Linked DNA regions of Homo sapiens: all the other regions are linked to region 4. The links are contacts of gene promoters, found by promoter capture Hi-C in blood cells and fetal thymus (Javierre and others, 2016). All regions are on one chromosome and are shown on one strand. Each heading gives the region's core, a stretch centred on a gene start or on the middle of the fragment in contact. The rest is flanking DNA. Distances are from core to core; before and after follow the strand shown. Region 1 overlaps TAF4B (TATA-box binding protein associated factor 4b). Region 2 overlaps TAF4B (TATA-box binding protein associated factor 4b). Region 3 overlaps TAF4B (TATA-box binding protein associated factor 4b). Region 4 holds the start of PSMA8 (proteasome 20S subunit alpha 8).

Evidence for each region. The method cuts DNA at HindIII sites, captures the fragments that hold promoters and counts their contacts. A CHiCAGO score of 5 or more calls a contact.
Region 1: a contact is called between a fragment that was not itself captured here and the fragment with the promoter of PSMA8 in region 4, in 1 of 17 cell types (activated CD4 T cells). The highest score is 5.2, in activated CD4 T cells.
Region 2: a fragment that was not itself captured here is called in contact with the fragment with the promoter of PSMA8 in region 4 in 1 of 17 cell types (activated CD4 T cells); the score reaches 5.1 in activated CD4 T cells.
Region 3: a contact is called between a fragment that was not itself captured here and the fragment with the promoter of PSMA8 in region 4, in 2 of 17 cell types (activated CD4 T cells and naive CD4 T cells). The highest score is 5.8, in activated CD4 T cells.

The regions. Positions count from the first base shown.
Region 1 is chr18:26,274,509-26,277,208 of GRCh38, forward strand. It overlaps TAF4B (TATA-box binding protein associated factor 4b), which reads left to right. Exons shown (of 15, transcript NM_005640.3): 4 at 155-316; 5 at 423-545. Among named protein-coding and RNA genes, the nearest start is that of TAF4B, 49 kb to the left of the region's middle. The HindIII fragment of the contact is 616 bases long and covers 1,001-1,616 here.
Region 2 is chr18:26,363,221-26,365,920 of GRCh38, forward strand. The region is part of intron 14 of TAF4B (TATA-box binding protein associated factor 4b); the gene reads left to right. Among named protein-coding and RNA genes, the nearest start is that of LINC01543, 58 kb to the right of the region's middle. The HindIII fragment of the contact is 529 bases long and covers 1,043-1,571 here.
Region 3 is chr18:26,334,074-26,336,773 of GRCh38, forward strand. It overlaps TAF4B (TATA-box binding protein associated factor 4b), which reads left to right. Exons shown (of 15, transcript NM_005640.3): 13 at 1,102-1,158. Among named protein-coding and RNA genes, the nearest start is that of LINC01543, 88 kb to the right of the region's middle. The HindIII fragment of the contact is 807 bases long and covers 888-1,694 here.
Region 4 is chr18:26,132,423-26,135,122 of GRCh38, forward strand. It overlaps PSMA8 (proteasome 20S subunit alpha 8), which reads left to right and starts at 1,447. Exons shown (of 7, transcript NM_001025096.2): 1 at 1,447-1,645. The coding sequence starts at 1,544. The HindIII fragment of the contact is 6,300 bases long and covers 1-1,999 here.

The sequences.
Region 1 (2,700 bases), core at 59-2,558, 140 kb after region 4:
GAGTTCCTAGAACTGTATTATATTGCCTTAGACTACTAGAGCATAACATAAAACCACAGATGTCAAAATTAACTTGTCTGATGAGTGTGAAATGAGGCACCCACTAATGTATCATAGTAATACATGCCTAAATATTTAATACCTTTAATTTCAGTCTGTGGCTGTGCCAACCAGTGTCGTCACAGTTACTCCTGGAAAGCCATTGAATACTGTAACTACCCTGAAGCCTTCAAGTTTGGGAGCATCATCCACTCCTTCAAATGAGCCCAATCTTAAAGCAGAGAACTCAGCAGCTGTTCAGATTAATCTTTCTCCGGTAAGCTCTTACTTGCACCTTACATAAATCTTGTTCCTTGCAAGTTCTTTTGAATTGTTTGCTCACTAACACTTGTGTTTGCTTATATTTACATTTTCATATTTAGACAATGCTAGAAAATGTGAAGAAATGCAAGAACTTCCTTGCAATGTTAATAAAACTAGCATGTAGTGGATCACAGTCCCCAGAAATGGGGCAAAATGTGAAGAAGCTGGTGGAACAACTTTTGGTAAGTAGTGCTATAAAATCCTGCAAATTCTGGAGGAATCCATATAACATGTTGTAATTGGGAAATGCATATTTTTAAATGGGATTTATTTAATTTATTTATTTATTTAATTTATGTTTTGAGACAGAGTCTCGCTCTGTTGCCCAAGCTGGAGTGCAGTGGCGTGATCTAGGCTGACTGCAACCTCTGCCTCCTGGGTTCAAATGATTCTCCTGCCTCAGCTTCCTGAGTAGCTGGGATTACAGGTGTGCATCACCACGCTCGGCTAATTTTTGTATTTTTAGTAGAGACGGGGTTTTGCCATGTTGGCTGGGCTGGTCTCAAACTCCTGGCCTCAAGTGATGCACTTGCCCTGACCTCCCAAAGCGTTGGGATTACAGGCGTGAACCACCAAGCCCGGCCTGAGATTTATTTTAAATGTAGTTCTTGATAAATTTTGTTTTTTGCTTCTTGAAAGCTTTGTAAAGACTATAAATCTTGGCTAGAAAAACCTATTGTATATTTCTTTTGAAAATTTACCTTTTTAAAAAAATTGTATATGTTTAAGGTATACAACATGATGTTTTGATATATATATTATTTCTGTACATCAGTCTTGCCTCCCTTACTCTACAAAGGGCCTTGGAGAAAAGGTTCATTATTTAGTCAATAGGAAATTGTTATTAGAATTATGAAATCTCTGCTGGGCACAGTGGCTCATGCCTGTAATCCCAGCACTTTGGGAGGCCGAGGCAGGTGGATCACCTGAGGTCAAGAGTTTGAGACCAGCCTGGCCAACATGGTGAAATCTCTTCTCTACTAAAAATATAAAAATTAGCCAGGTGTGGTGGCGCACGCCTGTAATCCCAGCTACTTGGAAGGCTGAGGCAGGAGAATGGCTTGAACCTGGGAGGCAGAGGTTACAGTAAGCTGAGATTGCACCACTGTACTCTAGCCCGGGCAACAGAGCAAGACTCTGTCTCAAAAAAAAAAAAAAAAAGAAAAGAAAAGAAAAAAGAATTATGAAATCTCAGAAAGCCAGGCTATCAATAGATAATGAAATTCGGTTCTTATATGTCCAGATAGACACCAAGCTTTGGGACCACAGAAGTTAGTTAATGCTCTTAGGCCTCACTTTCCTTATCTATAAGATTCTCATCTTGCAGATGAGAATGTTAAACATGATGATCGTTGATGTTTATATGAGTGCCAAGATGCTGTGTCTTTTAGCTACCAAATTATATGCCTTTGGTTTCTTACATCCTCTTTCAGGTAAAATATGTAGGTGCACTAAAAAGAGTGGAGATAGAAGTTAGCAAATATTTCATATTATATGCTTAAGACATGCTGAGGATATAACAAACAAATGGATTTGGATTTTTTGAACTACTATAATATACAGATTTCTCTCACCACGTAATTAGAATTATATTTTTCACATAAAAATTATCCCTTTTTCCAAGTATAAAATGTGTATATTTCAAATATTATACAGCAAAAACAAGCATAGTTTATAAATATTAAAATACCTTCTTTACTACTGTTTTTAATGCTGCCTGTAAGATGTTAGAGCACACTTGAAATGGTTAGTTTTTCATTTGGGAAGATGTTTTTATTACAGATGTCTAAAATACCTCATACTAACAAATTTTTAATTCAACTTACGGGTGTCTTTTTAAAAGTAAACATTGAGCTTTTGATCTTCCCTTTTCAAGGTATGCTAGTTTTGAAAGGGGATATGATGACTTGTTTCTCTGAAATGGAATACTCTAGATGAAGAGACCTGTTGGAAATGAATACGTATCCCATAAAATATTAAAGACTTTTTAACCACAAAACATATGTGTGAATTTTATGGACAGATAGAAACAGTTAGGAATTAAATATTACCTCTAGTTTTAAGATCTGTTTACTTTAGAACGACAAACAGCAGTTCTAAAACATTTTGGTTTTAGGATACCTTTAAATTCCTAAAACTTGAGGACTCCCCAAGGCATTTTGTTTTTTGTGGGGTTAACATTAAAACTGAAAAATGCTTAACTTTTTTTATTGAAAAAATTTTTTTTTGAGATAGGGTCTTAACTCTGTCACCCAGGCTGGAGTGCAGTGGCGTGAACAAGGCTCCCTGCTTTCTTGACCCTCCTGGGATCAAGCAATCCTCCCACGTCAACCTCCC
Region 2 (2,700 bases), core at 57-2,556, 230 kb after region 4:
TCCTTGTTGTTGATTTTTATTCATGGTGTTTTAACTTTAAAGGCATTTTTGTTTTCAAAATGAGAGACAGGCTGGGTGCAGTGGCTCCAGCCTGTAATCCCAGCATTTTGAGAGGCTGAGGAGTGTGGGTCACAAAACCCTGTCTCTACCAAAAAAAAAAAAAAAAAAAAAAAAAAAAGGCAGCGCGTGGTGGTGTGCGCCTGTAGTTCCAGCAACTTGGAGGGCTTAGGAGGGAGGATAGCTTGGCCCAGGAGGTCAAGGCTGCAGTGAGCTGTGATCAGGCCACTGCACTCCAGCCTGGGTGACACAGTAAGACCCTGCCTAAGAAAAAAATAAAAGAAAAAAGGAGAGAGAGGAGAGAGCCCTATTGCATGCTCCTTCAATGTTTAGGTATACTGCTGATTTGCATTAGTTACAATTGTTAGAAACCTTTATTCACTTGCTTTATTTCTTCACAAATAACACAAAAATGATGTATGAAACCATTTTTACTTTCAATATTCTGTACTCTGGAAACAAAGCCTTTACTTTTTGTTTGCTTCTTTATCGATGGGAACCTGAAATCTTAACATGTTTGAGTTAAATTTTTTAGAATCAGCATATAATCCCAGAGAGAAGTGGGAGTAGAATCTAGTTCTTCAGAGGGTAACTCTTTAGTTTGAATGCAGGTTTTTTCCTACTAAAAGGGAGCACTCTCAGTTGGGAAGATTGAATAGAATGATGGTAGTTTTTAAAAAAATGTAACATTCAAAAACATAGCACTTTAACATTCGAAGATTACCTTTATTGTTGCTAAGAAATTGGAGAAATTAGTTTTAGACCTTTGTCCTTGAGTATTTTTTGTTATGATAAAGCAAAACTTTTCTCATTAAATATGATCTATTTGTATAATTTATATATTAACCTAGCCTTTGGAAATTTACACTTGATATTCTCTGAAGTCTTGGTAAAATTGAATAGCATCAGCTGCTATCTCCTTATGTTATCCTGACAAAGAGCAGCAAGTACCAATTACAATTTTGAATAAGATATTTATACCATAAGCTTATTGGCTAGTGGGTCGCAGGAGGGTGGAAAAATAGTTAAAATGTACTATTTGGGAGTACTTTGAAATGTGTCCTTTCCTTTTGCTGCTGTGGTTTGAAGTTATATATATGAAATTAGTTTTTAAATTAATGTAGGCCGTACAGATATTGATACAGTAAAATAAAACCTACTTTAAGATTTAGAGTATTTGTATGTGTGTATTGTTTATATGTATTGTATCGGTGATGTGTTTGGGGTTCTTTGGAATTTTAAAACATTAATCACTTTACTTCCTGTGTTAATTAGAGATCCTTGGATTAGAAAGATTCTCTTTTCCCCCATTAGCTATACTTTCAAATATTTTGCATGCCTTATTAATGATCCAGCAACGTTTTTTTTTAGCACAAAGATAAGTTACATTTTAACCTTACATAATAACATGTCTAAAAAATTATACAAAATCAATTTTTGGAGCTATGAAAGTATTAAGGAATTTCAGCATACTATTTTACTTTGAATGCTTTTTTACTAACATAAATAAATGAAGCTTCCTAAGATCGTGTAATTCAGTTGATTTCATAATGCTGATATTTCTGTAACAATCAGGTTTACAGCACCAGATTAGCTACATGGTGCTTATAGTATCATTTTAGTTAAAATAGAATTTGCTAACCAAAATAAAGAAATTGCAATATGTATTAGTATATGTCCTCTCCTTCTAGAAGCAGGTTAAAGTGCTACTCTATAATTCTATTCTTTTTTTTTTTTTTTTTTTTTTGAGATAGAGTCTCGCTTTGGCACCCAGGCGGGAGTGCAGTGTCGTAATCTCGGCTCACTGCAACCTCCACCTCCTGGATTCAAGCGATTCTCCTGCCTCCGCCTCCCAGGTAGCTGGAACTACAGGCGCATGCCACCACACCCAGCTAATTTTTGTATTTTTAGTACAGATGGGATTTCACTATGTTGGCCAGGCTGGTCTTGAACTCCTGACCTCAGGTGATCTGCCCTCCTCAGCCTCCCAAAGTGCTGGGATTACAGACGTGAGCCACCGCACCTGGCCTATAATTCTGTTCTTGAGGATAAAAGTAGAAAGGACTTTTTTGAAACTTCAGTTAGCAATACATTAGAATATTTGATTGAAAATCAGAATTACATGAATCTGATTTTCAGCAGGCAGCAGAAGCTTCCGGCTTGTAGCCAAAAAGAAAGTCTGGAAAGCTAGATGGGAGTGTCTTGGAGAGGAGGGATGGTACTGGAGAGGGGTCTGTCCATGAACCGTAGGAACTCTGGTGGTTGACATGTGTGTCTATACCAGGTAAGAGGAAAAAGCAGACGGCAGAGTGAGACAGAGTCCGTGGCTTTGTCATCTTCAGAGAAGGTGGTAGTAGCGATTTGTGGACTTAATTATTTTCTACACTATTGTCTTTCCATGAATCACTTCAGTATGTAGCAAGATAGGGCTTCCAAAGCAACAGACTTGTGGTGGTCTTCTCGAACTCAGTGCTGTACATAGTTCTTTGACTGTACCTGATAGAATGTTTTTGGTTTTGTTTTTTGTTTTGAGATGGGGTCTTGCTTTATCACCCAGGCTGGAGAGCAGTGGTGCGATCTCAGCTCACTGCAACCTCCACCTCCCAGGCTCATGCCATCCTTCCGCCTCAGCCTCCTGAGTAA
Region 3 (2,700 bases), core at 41-2,540, 200 kb after region 4:
GTGATACTATAACTAGAGTAACAAAAGAGTTTATCTTTTCGCTTGAAATGAAATTTTGTTAGTAGATTGGGGACTAAAATGAAGAAAAATTTTACCAGCTTTGGGTTGAATTTTGTGTAGATATTTAAGATGTTTGAAATTAGTAGGCACTCAAATTTAAAGACTATCTCTTATATTTTCCTTTAACCAAAGGTTCTGGTAAATCAATAAATGTATCAGGTAAACTTATTAAATATGAAAATACTTTTAGCTTTTATTTAGTTAGCTATCTAGATATTACCTTAGTTAACGAAGGTTTCATTTTATGGAACAAATACTCAGATTTATAAGCAATTAAATAACTTTGTCATGGTGAGAAAAAAGGATATACGTATCCCAAACATGTTTTCCAGTGGACAGATATTCATGGTGTCAGAAATAAAGTTCCCTACCCTTTGTTCCATCATAGCTTGATACATAGAAAACAGCTCTCTTCTTATGCCAGTTCTGTATTATGGAAGGCGACATCCAATAAACAATTATTGAACATGGTGCACAGCATTCTATTAAGTGCTATAGAGGACCCAAAGATGATAAGACATTCTAATTAAAATACTGAGATGTATTTTCTACTTATAATTTTAGAAATTATACCTTTAAAGAGAGATTTGGTTCAAGGTTAGTCAGGTTCTTGATTTTAATAGTCCTCGAAATACCTATGTTTTCCCAAATGGCTTCACCTGAAGATCAGCCAGTATTGATTGTTTTTATTCATTTAAACCAACAATTACTCTTTTTTTCTTTTCCTTCATCTGTACCACCAATTTTTTAGTTTTCAGTGTTCCTACAAGAACAACGTCATGCCTCAACTGGACCTGACTGACATCGTTAGCATCATTTTCAGTATAAGCTTCCTCCAGGCTAGAACTGCAGCAGCCAGCCCAGATGATGAGGGGGCAGGGGAAACCAGGGTGGGAGTGCAGCTAGACTGGATTGAGGTATTTTCCCCTGGAGCTAAGATATTCAATCACAAGAGAAAATTGTCATTTATTAAATATTTAATGGCAACTATGGTGTTCAGATGCTAGTAATTTCTATTAAAATTTTCTTTTCCTTTGATAGAGTCGTTCTAATAAAGAAGATCCAGAACAGCTGAGATTAAAGCAGAAAGCCAAAGAGGTAGGACTTTCAAGTTACCATGCTTGTCTTTGTGTTTGAGGGAAGGTTGGCAGCTCTCTCCTGGCAATTAGGTCAGGGTTTATTTTGCTGTTGCATACCATTTGCAGAAGCCTTGGGGAAGGACAGGAACTGCTAAAGGCAAGGGCAGTACTTCAAATGAGGTCAATGAGTTATGTGCTCTCTTTTTAAAATTTATTTTCAAGGCTTAGGCCTGTCTCGAAATGGGTCTTTGTAAACTACAGCAGCATACTTGGAGGAATATAATGTGAGATTTTAAAAAAAAAGAAACTTTTGAGATTTAGCATCTGGGACTGTACAATAGGCTACATTTTTCCAGGGTAATTGTTCGTTTTGTAAATCTGATACTGCTTATAATTCTTTGGCTGGGAGGCGGTGCTGGGATTTAGTTTTAAATGGAAAATGCCTCTGGCTTTTAATTTTCTGGGCCCAGCAGTTTTCTGTTCTGGAATGGAGCCCTTGTTTCACACAGTTCATGTTTAGCTGCAGGGGTTTTAGTTTATAGCTTAGACTGGTTAAGCTTTTACTCCCAGAGGCCTCTGCATAGCAACTGTAGAAATCAACAAATAAGTTCATTTATGTCTGCAGCCTCCTCTCAGTAGCTGACTTTTTACATTTCCCAATATCCATTTCCTGACTTTTCTAGCCCCAGAGAAAAAAGCTCCACTAATTGGAGCTTATTTTAATTGAGCCTTAATATTGGATCTCACTGGAGTTGCCCCCAGAGCTGCTGAGAACAGAATGAAATGAAAGTACCTAAGGTTGAAGGTGCAGTGTGTGTATGGGTGTGTGTGTGAAATTTTTCACTTGACCTACAGATTCTTTTCCCTCCTGAATAAATCATCAAGCCTGTTCACATTTCTGATTAAGGATCTGACAGCAGATGATAATAAAGACAATTGAGGTGTGAGACGTGTGATATGGAGCTGAAGAAATTGGTTTCTATAGTTACTTCACTGATTTCATGCAATTTTTAAGGATCTTTGTGCTAAATAAGAGTGATTTTCTGAGCAACCTTTTCCCTTAACTGTGCCTCTTGAACTATGAAATTTGTTGTTGCTTAACATTGCTGCAGTTGGCTCCTAGGTGCCAGCAGCAGCAGGTTATTTATGAACGTTTTAAAGGCCCTTATTGTTTGGATTAATGTAGGAATTGAGGCAAAACAAGTGGAAATCTAGTAAGATTCTTACAATCAATGTGGTGTGTTTTCATTAACATAGAGAAGGAAAATACATGAACTCTGGGTGGAGGGATTTCAGGATTGGGACAGGGAACGATGGAAAGGGAGAACACTTTAAAAAAAAAGTTGAGAGCAGAAACATTTTATTTTCAGCAACAAGATATTCCTTATACTGATGTCTTTCCAGTGGAAAATGTATCTAAAATTATTAGTATGAGAACTGTACCTATAATTCTCTTTAAGCAAACCTGGCATGAGGATAGATTATTTAGGGATGGGCAACCTACTGTTGCTCTGAATCATGGGTATCCCACCTTGTTTTAATTAAGGACTGACTAGATGCT
Region 4 (2,700 bases), core at 197-2,696:
TCGCAGTACTTTCGGATGCCAAGGCAGGAGGATTGCTTGAGACCAGGAGTTTGAGACCAGCCTGGGCAACATAGGGAAACCAAGTCCCTACGTTAAAAAAAAAAGTATTAATAATTAAATAAATTGTTTAAGTCAATTAAAATTCTGATTTAAGTATTTGGAATTCAGGGAATCAAATTTTTCCTCTTTTGAGGAAATTATTCTTTTTTTCTTTTTTTTGGTTAAAGTTGATTTCACCAACTTTAAGATCCTCCCCAGTGGAAAACTGCATATATTAAACAACACATGGAAAGCAATAATAGCTAAACTTACCTGGCTATTACTGCCCACCAGGCACCATTTTATGTAATTATGCCCATAAACACATATTAAGCTCAGAATACTCTGCTGCAGATTTTTTAATATTCCCATTTTATTGATAAGGAGAAAGCGACAGAGTTGTTTCATAGTTAGTAATGTAGCAAGTTGTAAAGAGTTTCTGCTATAGCTAAATTTCCAGACATCTTTTAAGTCTCATACTTTGGGCTTTTACAAAATTTCTCCAATTAAAAGAATATTATCTGGGCCGGGCGCGGTGGCTCACGCCTGTAATCCCAGCACTTTGGGAGGCCGAGGCAGGCGGATCACGAGGTCAGGAGATCAAGACCATCCTGGCTAACACGGTGAAACCCAGTCTCTACTAAAAATATAAAAAATTAGCCGGGCGTGGTGGCGGGCGCCTGTAGTCCCAGCTGCTCCGGAGGCTGAGGCAGGAGAATGGCGTGAACCCGGGAGGTGGAGCTTGCAGTGAGCCGAGATTGCACCACTGCACTCCAGCCTGGGCGACAGAGCGAGACTCCGTCTCAAAAAACAAAAAACAAAACAAAACAAAAAAAAGAACATTATCTTAATTCTCATCATTAGCTTAGTTTGATGGACTATTTGCTTTATTTAACGGACCATTTGCTCATCTGCTCTATTTTGCTCACAAGGCAGAAAATATCAGAAGCAACAATATTTTGAAGTTTGCTTTCTTTCCTTCGGTTCAAATAACAAGAGTTAACCTGAGAGAGAGAAAGAAAAAGTAGGAAATTTAGAATTTGAAACCAAAGGGAAGGGACTGATATTTAACTTACCACAGTTTCTCCAACATGTATGCGATAACAAAAATATCTGATATTTGAAGACCTCATTTTTAAGCCCTAATCTTTGATATTATTTTTATAACTCGAGTGCCGTGACACCATCCCTGGGGCAACACGGTAGTGGGGAAATGGAGATATGCGCTATGCGTCAGACATGAAGGGTAAGGGAAGAATGCCGTCAACTCACAGGCACTGCTTGGGTGACAAAGGCTGGCAAGCGCGAGGACATCCGCAGGCAGCCAAAGGAGCAAGGACTTCCGTGAAGCAGCCGAAGCGCGGGCGCGGGGACTTCCGGGAGGCAGCTTGAGGCGCGTGTGGAAGCGCTTCCGGGCGGTAGCACGCTGTGTTGGCGGCGGCTCCCCGCTTGCCTCAGCTGCAGCAGCGGGAAGCTCGGTGGCAAGCCCTTGTAGTCCTGTGCGATGGCGTCTCGATATGACAGGGCGATCACTGTCTTCTCCCCAGACGGACACCTTTTTCAAGTTGAATATGCCCAGGAAGCGGTGAAGAAAGGATCCACCGCGGTGAGGAAGCAACTATTACCGGACTATTCCCCGCTCTGACCTGTCAGGCCATCGTTACCCTGCTGCCCCAGCCCACCTTTCCATCCTAGGAGCTCAAGAGAGGAGATTCCCACACTTGTGAAAATTACTTTGTTCTTTTTATTTAGGGAGACAGACTTCTAGATTTGGGCCGGAAGTGGGCAGAGTAAAAGTTAGTAGATTTCCCCTATCTCTGCTGTTCAACTGCCTCTGTTTCATGGTAGCTACAGACGCAAAACTAGGGTGTGTGTGTGGGTGTGTGTGTGTGTGTGTGTGTGTCTCTGTGTGTGTGTGTGTGTGTGTAGGGACGTTAATGATGTGATTGACAATAGGGAAAGCTTCTAATCTGTAACAGCCTACCTATTGAACGCTCGTGGTCCAGTTCCTTGGTAGTTCAGAGACCCCTGGAAAAGTTAACAGTTGCTTCATGTTGGGAACTGTTTTTTAATAACAGTTACAATAAAAAATAAAAGTTGGCCACACCTGCTCCCCAAATACGGACTAAATCAATATAAAATTAAACTTTTGTTGATGAAGAAATGATTAAAAACACAGTTCAAACACACGCGTTAAAAATATCCCAAAATTGCTGGGCGCAGTGGCTCACACCTGTAATCCCAGCACTTTGGAAGGCCCAGGAGGGCGGATCACCTGAGGTCGGGAGTTTGAGACCAGCCTGACCAACATGGAGAAACTCCGTCTCTACTAAAAATACAAAATTAGCCAGGCGTGGTGGCGCATGCCTGTAATCCCAGCTACTCGGGAGGCTGAGGCGGGAGAATCGCTTGAACCTGGGAGGCAGAGGTTGCGGTGAGCCGAGATCGTGCCATTGCACTCCAGCCTGGGCAACAAAAGCGAAACTCCGTCTCGGGAAAAAAAAAAAAAATCCCAAAATTGTCCCAATATTTCCCAGCCTTGTAGAGGCTCAAAAGTCCAAGAACTTCCACTTTTTTGGCCACTTAAAAAATAATGCTGGAAGTTCCTTGAGAGATTACACCCTACCTTAGATTTATGTATCCACATTACTGAAAAACTTA